Linked DNA regions of Homo sapiens: region 2 is linked to region 1. The links are contacts of gene promoters, found by promoter capture Hi-C in human tissues and cell types (Jung and others, 2019). All regions are on one chromosome and are shown on one strand. The core of a region is centred on a gene start or on the middle of the fragment in contact, and the rest is flanking DNA. Distances in the headings are between cores, read along the strand shown.

Region 1 (4,939 bases), core at 753-3,252:
GGTGGCAGGCACCTGTAATCTCAGCTACTTGGGAGGCTGAGGCATAAGAATCGCTTGAACCTGGGAGGGAAGGGTTGCAGTGAGCTGAGATCATACCACTTCATTCCAGCCTGGGTGACAGAGTGAGACTCCATCTCAAAAAAAAAAAAAAAAAAAAAAAAATTTAAGCAATCAATGGATAATAACTAGGAAACAATACATGTATTATATACCCTTCATTGTATATCTCACCCCACACATGAATTAACTCAAGATGGATCATAGACCTAAATATTTAGCAATTATAGTCTGTATATAATGTGATTGATTACAGATCTGTATTTTACAATGCAACTGATTATAGCATCTGTACATGAAATGCAATCAATTACAGATTTTAAGAGGAAAAAAGCCTATTAATATCTTTCATGGTCAACAAAACTCTACCTCTCCTGCTGGTACTCAGTCCTGCAGTAGGTGCACTTCACAACAGGGTGTGCAATCCGACATTCCTGAAATGAAATGAGGATATAATTTTAAAAGGCAGTCACAAATGGAAACAGCCTTCAGTAGGAAGCCGACCTGGGTACTATTTCTAGCATAGCTACTATGCTTGAGTGAGTCACTTAAACTTTCTGGGCCTTATTTTTCTCCTCTGTAATACTGGCATCACTTCCCTACTGTTGATGTGGGAGTTAAGTAAGAACTTATATGGATTATATGGAACTAGCCATAAATTGTAAAACAAACATATATATGAACAAGTCCCAGACTGGGAATCAGAAGCCCTGAATTCCAGGCCTGGTTCTTCTGCCACTGTGTGATTTTGCGGTTTACTTGTGAAATGAAAGTGCTGGATTAAAATTATTATTTATATATACATAACTTCCTTAAAATCATATATACATATTTTGAGGCCAAAAAGGGCACTCAAGCACTTGCATTCCCCCAGACCTGGTATATAAAAACTGGCAAATGGAAAGTCATGACCATCTGAGGCAAAAGTGACAATTATGAGTTATCCAAATCAGAGACACAAACTGGATTATTGGATAACCTCAACATTATTCTTCAGCCAGTTTGGTGACTTTTTAACTGTTGCCTCACAGCACCTCTAGTCACTTAAAAAGTAAAAGTGGGATAAAGCAACTTAAAAGAAAAAGAGAAGTTGGACCTTCAGGAGCAAAAACTGATCAGCAGCTAGTCAGGGAAGACCGAAGACCACCAACTGGATGCTGAGAAGTGATCCCTCGGATCTGTGAGCCTGACTGTGGGGCTTTTTTAAAACATAAAGCCTTGCTGCCTCCGATTCTGAGACTGGCCGAAAAGTGAGATGCTTAAAAAAAAAAAAAAAATCAAGCCTTGCTACCTCCGATTCTGAAACTGGTCGAAAAGTGCCCGTGAGGAGCCCGAGTTCGACACATTCCTCCAAGGCAGCACCCAACTTTGGAGTTCAGTCCCAGGAGGGGCAGGAGGTCCCCACCAGGGAGACCGCGGCGGCGGGGGAGGCAGCGCAAAGGGATCCCGAAGGCGACCAGTCAGGGCAAGCAGGGGACCCGCTGTCCCTCCCCCGACCTCACGGGGTCCGAGAACAATCCCCACGGTTGCTAAGCACCCGGACACGCCGGCCGCGGGAGCCTGGACCGGGTCCCGGCTCCCGCACGTGCCCCGCCGGCCCCCAGCGGGGTGGGTGCGGCTCCTCAGCCTGGCGGGCCTGCCACACCCTGCTCCGGGGACCCCGCCGGGCGTCCCCACAGAATCTGGAGCTCCGGGCCGCGCCTCCTGCGTCCCCAGTTCCCGGCCGCCGCCCCAGCCCGCGCACCTTGCACAGCTGCTGCCCCTGAGACAGCGCCTCGAAGGGGAAGCGCTGGTGGCACTTGGTGCAGGCGTAGAGCGCCGCCATGTCCGGCCCGGGCCGCGCTCACCGACCCGCCGGCCCGGCCCGCCGATTTATCTGACAGTCTGAGGCACAACCCGGCGGCGGCTGCAGGCTGCTGGCTGCGGCAGGCGGGCGGGCGCAGGCGGGTCGGGGCGGACCCGGGCGGGCTGGGGCGGGCACGGCGACTCTAGACGCCCGCTCACTGGTGGGCTTTGACGTCGATCAAGTGGGAAGGGGCGGAACACGGAGCTTTCGCCCACTCTGATTCGGTCTGGCCTGGAGTACGCCACTGTGACGCTCCAGGCCGCGATTATGTAAAGCGCAGTCACGCGGGGGCGCCACCTGGAGGGGACAGGCTCCCGGCCGGGACCTCGGAAGAGCTTAGGCTCCGCCCTACTTGCTCAGCGTTCCCGCCCTCGCTCCGCCTCTCCACGGCCTCAGGCGCATCTGCGCTTCTCGCGATACCTTCGGGGATTTGTGATGTTTTGGTTTCCATGGAGCTGCCCTCTGGGAGCACGAGGGGTACAATTGGAACGAAGGCGGCGCACAGTTAACTGGAACTCTGCAGCCGTCCAAGCCCAAAGAAGGTGGGGAGCTTGGGAAAGAAGTTCCTCATAATCGGAGCAGGAGGAGCCCGCCCAGCCTCGCTCAAAGGAGGAGACGAGACTCTGAGGGACAATTTAGAAGTGTGTCCTCAATTTAAGACACCTAAATAGGGAACTGTGGGGCTGTGGGCCTTAGGAGAGAAAAGGAGAGCCCCAGAGAGAGCACCCCTATGCTGCGGAAGAGGGACTAAAGAGATGGCAGTCCTTCCAGGAGGGATTGGACAGATATTCAGGCGTCCGGTGGCCTGCAGGCCCCCATCAGAGTGGGCTGCAATTGGCCCAGACCTGCTTCCTACTTTGTTTTCTCCGGTTTCACCCCCAGCTTCTCTCGCAAGCAACCACCTGGTGATTCCTGACGAGGCCTGACTTCCGGAAGGCAAGCCACGCCCTCCGGGCTCCCCTGCCTCTCTTTGGCTCCAGCTTGGCATGTATAGGAGCTGCCCAAGGAATGACAGACTTCTTGTTCTTGAGGTGTTGGCAAAGCTTCCTGCACTGCTGACCTATCCAAGTCCTGCCTTGTAGCTGCTCTTGGGCATAGGTTACTCTTGGCTCTGCCAACCACCCGTACAGGACTAATTGCAGTTTTACCTCAACGTGCGCTTTTTACAATTAAAAACTGACTTAATGGCTTCTATTTCCCTGCCTCAACAAAAAAAATTTACTCTCTCTGAACCCAAATCTGGCTGCTTCCTTGTAGGATCCCCCAAAGATGTGCATTAATCATTAGGATCAGAAAGCAAAGTTTCCAAATCACTGTTCCACAACTAACTACATGACCTTGGATCTATCACTGAACTTCTCACGGCCTCGTTTTTCTCAATTGTACAATGAGGTCATTGTGAGAATCAAAACCAGTACATGAGTCGGGGCGGGATGGCTCACAACTGTAATCCCAGCACTTTGGGAGGCTGAGGCCAGAGGATCACTTGAGCCTTGGGATTTAAGACCAGCCTGGGTCGGCCGGACGCGGTGGCTCACGCCTGTAATCCCAGCACTTTGGGAGGCCGAGGCGGGTGAATCACCCGAGGATCACCTGAGGTCAGGAGTTCCAGACCAGCCTGACCAACAAGGTCAAACCCTGTCTCTACTAAAATACAAAAATTACCCGGGCGTGGTGGCAGGCGCCTGTAGTCCCAGCTACTCGGGAGGCTGAGACAAGAGAATTGCTTGAACCTGGGAGGCAGAGGTTGCAGTGAGCCAAGATCATGCCACTGAATTCCAGCCTGGACTACGGGGCAAGACTCCGTCTCAAAAAAAAAAAAAAAAAGACCAGCCTGTGCAACACAGTGGGACCCCATTTCTACAAAAAAACTTTTTTAAAAATTAGCCGGGTGTGGTGGCACGAGCCTGTGGTTCCAGCTACTCAGGCGGCTGAGGCGGGAGGATCCCTTGAGCCTGGACAGTCGAGGCTGCCCTGAGCCATGATTATGCCACTGCACTCCAGCCTAGGTGACAGAGTGAGACCCTGTCTCAAAATATATATGCAAATACAAATAAAAACAGTACGTGGAGGAAAATGTGGGGAAATTGTTTAATGGGTAAGGGGCTTTTGGAGTGATGAAAATGTTTTGGAACTAGATAGAGGTAACGGTTGTTCAACATGGTGAATATACTTTTTTTTTTTTTTTTTTTTTGAGACAGAGTCTGGCTCTGTCTCCCAGACTGGAGTGCAGTGGCGCAATCTTGGCTCACTGCAACCTCCACCTCCCAGGGGTTCAGGTGATTCTCCTGCCTCAGCCTCCTGAGTAGCTGGGATTACAGGCGCGTGCCACCACCCCTGGATAACTTTTGTATTTTTAGTAGAGATGGAGTTCACCATGTTGACCAGGCTGGTCTTGAACTCCTGACCTCAGGAGTTCCTGGATCAGTTGATCCGCCTGCCTCGGCCTCCTAAAGTGCTGGGACTACAGGCGTGAGCCACTGTGCCCGGCTTTTTTTTTTTTTTTCTTGTGACGGAGTCTTACTCTGTCACCCAGGCTGGAGTGCAGTGGTGCGATCTCAGCTCACTGCAACCTCCACCTCCCGGGTTCAAGCGATTCTCCTGCCTCAGCCTCCTGAGTAGCTGGAATTACAGGCATGCACCACCGTGGCCGGCTAATTTTTGTATTCTTAGTAGAGATGGTTTTTGCCATGTTGGCCAGGCTGGTCTCGAGCTCCCGACCTCAAGTAATCTGCCCGCCTCAGCCTCCCAAAATCTGGGATTACAGGTGTGAGCCACCACGCCCAGCCTCAACATGGTGAATATACTAAATACCACTGAATTGTTCACTTTAAAATGCTTAATTTTATGTTATGTGAATTTCATTTCAAATTATTATTATTATTACTTTTTGAGAGAGGGTCTCACTCTCCCCCAGGATGGAGTGCAAAGGCTCAATCTTGGCTCCCTGCAGCCTCAACATCCCTGGGCTCAGGTGATACTCCAACCTCAGCTTCCTGAGAAGCTGAGACTACAGGCACACACTACCAAGTTCTT
Region 2 (4,461 bases), core at 1,307-3,806, 320 kb before region 1:
TCAGGTGATCCACCTGCCTTGGCCTCCCAAAGTGCTGGGATTAGAAGCGTGAGCCACTGGACCCGGCCATATTCCTAAGTATTTTATTCCTTTTGATGCTATTGTGAATGGATTTTTTTTTTCATTTTTGAATTGTTCACTGCAAGTATATAGAAATATAATTGATTTTTGTATGTTTGTCTTGTATTTTGCTGCCTTGCTGAACTTGTTTATCAGTTCTAGTGGTTTCTTAATGGATTCGTTAGGATTTCTGTATACAAAATTATGTCATGCAAAAAGAGATTCTGATTTTTTCACTTTTAACCCTAACGGAGCTTTTTCAGCTTTATTGCTTTCTTACTTCCTGGCAGCTTGTATTACTGTCCTACTACTGTCCTGGTATGGCCCCAATTCCTTGGATACCAGCTGCTTGTATAATCTATACTGGTTTTGTTAATGAAAATTGTTCTCTGTAGGACTGGTTGCTACTTGAATCTTTGCTCACTTTGCTGTGTAGTTTTCAGTATTCATTATTGCAAGTACTATGTTACTCTGTAAACTCTCCAGAAAATTGTTGCTCAATCTTTGCTATTTCTCTTAACAACCAGGAATCATTTTCTGTCAGTTTCTAGCTTGTATTGTTTGAACTGATACTTCTATAATTGAGTAAAATCTGTCTGTCTTCTTTAGTTAATTTACCTGCCTCTACTGCCTAGTTAGTACATGCTTCCTATCCCTGCCTTAGAGGGGGGCATAATTGCTCAAATCAAGACAAACAATGGGCCATATGAGGTTAAAAACAAAACAAAACAAAAAAAACATTGTAACACCCTTTCCTTCCCCAGACTTTTCTGCTTGGTAGATATGACTTTAGATACATTTTCTCCCTTTCTATTTATGAATATATACTCTGCACTGGGTTGGCACGGTAATAAATTAAAAATGAAGGAGCGTAAAGAAGCATAATTCTTCCTTGAAAGTAAATAAATTTTTGGCCAGGCGCAGTGGCTCACGCCTGTAATCCCAGCACTTTGGGAGACCAAGGTGGACGGATCACTTGAGGCCAGGAGTTCGAAACCATCCTGGCCAATGTGGTGAAACCCGGTCTCTCCTAAAAATAGAAAAAATAGCAAAATTAGCTGGGCATGGTGGTGTGCACCTGTGGTCCCTGCTACTCGAGAGGCTGAGGCACAAGAACTGCTTGAACCCGGGAGACAGAGGTTTCAGTGAGCCGAGATTACGCCATGGCACTCCAGCCTGGGTGACAGAACAAGACCCTGTCTCAAAAAAAATAATAATAATAATAATAATAATAATAAATAAAAAGTAAATTTAAAAATGTTGCTCCAGGACCTTTTTTTTAAATCCTTTTTTCTTTTGGAGTTGATTAACTAAATTTGTTGCTCTATACCTCTAATAAAATGAAGACTATGATAAGTTAGACTCCTCAGTGCTCTAATTTTCTTTGTTTAAATTACTGTTTGAAGAGTATAGACTGTTTTGGTTACTCAGCCAACCAGCTCGTAATTACATTTCTTTGATAGCAAAGAGTCTTTGGATGAGCTAAGCATAAATTCATCTCCACTATTGGAAGAATATATTATTATCTGACCATATGTAACTACTATCATCTTTAGGTAGGAAGGGCAGAACATTTTATAAAAAAAGGCTATATTTTGTCATTTGTGAAATTATGGCAGGCAGATAAACTAGATAGTTGAATTTTTCTTGTCTTTAGCCTTATAGTTTCCAGGCAAAACACTGTTTTCCTATATTATCTAGGTCAGATCATATTTCCCTCACCTCTTTCAGTGAGATAGTCGTATACATTGGTAATACAGTTAGATTTTTTTGTCACAGTCTGCATACTATCCTGGAATCCCTCAACCTCCTGGTTGTTTTATGGTGTCTTTTATCATATAGAAGTTTAAAATTTTTGTGTAATCATATCTATTTTCTCCTTTATGGCTTTTGGATTTAATGTCATGCTTAATCAGGATTTGCCCACCTCAAGGTTTCGTTTTTTGTTTTTGCTTCAAATGCTTTAATGTAATTTTTGTTTCAAATTTAGAAATGTTTTTTTAAATTGCCTTTGTTTCTTTATTTTCTCCTTTTTGGTAACTATGAAAATTAAGAGAACATTGAATGGAACACATTTTGACATGCCATAAGCAAGGAACCAAGAATGTCTGGTCATGGTTGTGTATTCTCATGAGGAGTATATGGCCACGACAAATTTTATGGGGCTTGCCTGTATTATTTACCTTGTCTGAAATAGTCAATGTAATATTAAATATCTATGATTCCACCTGATACGCTTGCTTCAAATTATCTAGGAGAGTTTCTGCCTTCTTCTATTAGCTTGAAATACTTTTAAATATTCATAATTTGAATGGCTAAGCATATTAGACATGTTTCTACTACAACCAGTTCTAACCAGAGAGTTCTAAAATCAGATTCTCTGTAATATGAAAACAGAAAAATCCATTAGTATTAACCATTATCTTTCATTTGTGGATTCTTACACTGTTTCAATGGAAGTGCCTTCTCCCCAGAAGGAAATAGAAAATGTGAAATATGAAAAGAAAAAATACAGGGTTAACAATATTTTCTAAATTACTGGTAACCTGATAAGAATTCATATTAATTTTTGACACTAAACTAACTTAAGTATAAAGCCATTTTTGTTAAATAAATGAGTAGATGATACTTAGATTCCCATCTTTACTGTTTGTTTAAATATAATTTGCCTGTTACAGTATAAAACCAACTAGTTTGTATCAAAGCTTGGATACTTTATCCTAGTAAACATTCTGTCTACCTTGAGTAAAAATTCTGGTAAACAGTTTTTTTTTAATCAGAAGAACACTTTTTTCATTAAAAAGAAGAGCTCCATTTAAAAAACAAACTTCATTTCTAGCTCTAAAATATAACAAGGGTTAATTAAATCTAGACTAAACAAAATTAAACAGTTATCCTGTAATAGTTAATAGCCTGTTGTTTGAGTAGCTAAATGATTTAAAAAACAGATCAAGTACATTGATACCTTTGTATATTTATTTTTGCAGGTGAAAAAAGCCAAGATGCAGGAATCAGGAGAGCAAACTATAAGGTATGTAAAGTTTGCTTTCTTTTTAATGAACTACTCATAAGTTTTGTTTTTTTTTTTCACATGCTGATTAGCGTATGGGCATGCTTTGCCCTCTTTTTGGTTCTTACCATCAGCTGTTACATTTTGAAATTATTTGGTTTAAGATTAAAATTTCCTTTCCAAATAGTTTTTTCCTGAAACTTGTGCACTGATTTGTTCTTATGCATTCATTATTTATTCAACAATATGTACCAAACTCATGTTGTATATCAGGCACTGTGCTACATAGAGGAGACTTAATGGTAAAGATGAAAAGCACCATATTCTTCAGTCAGACGTACAATATACAGAATAGGAAGCATAAGCGAAATAAATAAAATCCAAGAGATTTGGTATTAATTACCAAATGGTTATGAAATGACTTAGTCATTAACCCCACTCCTCTTATAGAAAAGAGGAAGCTTGCGCCTGGCACGGTCGCTCACGCCTGTAATCCCAGCACTTTGGGAGGCTGAGGCGGGCAGATCACGAGGTCAGGAGATCGAGACCATCCTGGCTAACACGGTGAAACCCCGTCTCTACTAAAAATACAAAATTATTAACCGGGCGTGTTGGCGGGCGCCTGTGGTCCCAGCTACTCAGGAGGCTGAGGCAGGAGAATGGTGTGAACCTGGGAGGTGGAGCTTGCGGTGAGCTGAGATCGCGCCACTGCACTCCAGCCTGGGCGACAGAGCGAGACTCTGTCTCAAAAAAAAAAAAAAAAAGAGAAAAGAGGCAGCTTGTTTGCACCTCACAGTTTGGCTTCTTCATACCATGGTTTTCAGTTTTCCACAGTTCTTACCTTCTGTCGTTTGTGCACCAACCATATGAGCCAGTAACTGCATCACCTCTACCACATTAATTTCAAGAATCCTACACTTTTACCTCCACACACTATCATCCCGGCTCATTTATTCTAGAACTGCCATGCTAGCCATATGATGTCTTAAACTATCAATTAAATCATCTGTCATCTTTTCACCATCACCCCTTAAAAAGAACTTTAGTTTCTTCCTTATAAGAGACCAACATGGCGGAACCTTGTTTCTACTAAAAACACAAAAATTAGCTCGGCGTGGTGACTTGAGCCTATAATCCCAGCTACTTGGGAGACTGAGGCAGGAGAATGGCTTGAACCCACGAGGCGGAGGTTACAGTGAGCCAAGAATGCGCCACTGCACTCCAGCCTGGGCGACAAAGACTCTGTCTCAAAAAAAAAAAGGAACTTAACTGGCCAGGTGTGGTGGCTCCACTTTTGGAGGTCCAGGTGGGCAGATCGCTTGAGTTCAGTAGTTTGAGACCAGCCTGGGCGACATAGCAAGATGCTGTCTCTATAAAAAACACAAAAACAA

What was found. Contacts are between HindIII fragments. The study calls those that stand out against the background at their distance.
Region 2: a fragment that was not itself captured here is called in contact with the fragment with the promoter of FAM76A in region 1 in 1 of the 25 tissues and cell types used here (mesenchymal stem cells).

Annotation. Positions count from the first base shown.
Region 1 is chr1:27,723,024-27,727,962 of GRCh38, reverse strand. FAM76A (family with sequence similarity 76 member A) reads right to left here and starts at 2,002. Exons shown (of 9, transcript NM_152660.3): 1 at 1,802-2,002; 2 at 427-491. The coding sequence starts at 1,882. RefSeq lists silencers at 1,478-2,177, 2,016-2,658. The HindIII fragment of the contact is 12,090 bases long and covers 1-4,939 here.
Region 2 is chr1:28,047,013-28,051,473 of GRCh38, reverse strand. EYA3 (EYA transcriptional coactivator and phosphatase 3) reads left to right here. Exons shown (of 18, transcript NM_001990.4): 3 at 3,048-3,091. Among named protein-coding and RNA genes, the nearest start is that of EYA3, 39 kb to the left of the region's middle. The HindIII fragment of the contact is 5,379 bases long and covers 1-4,461 here.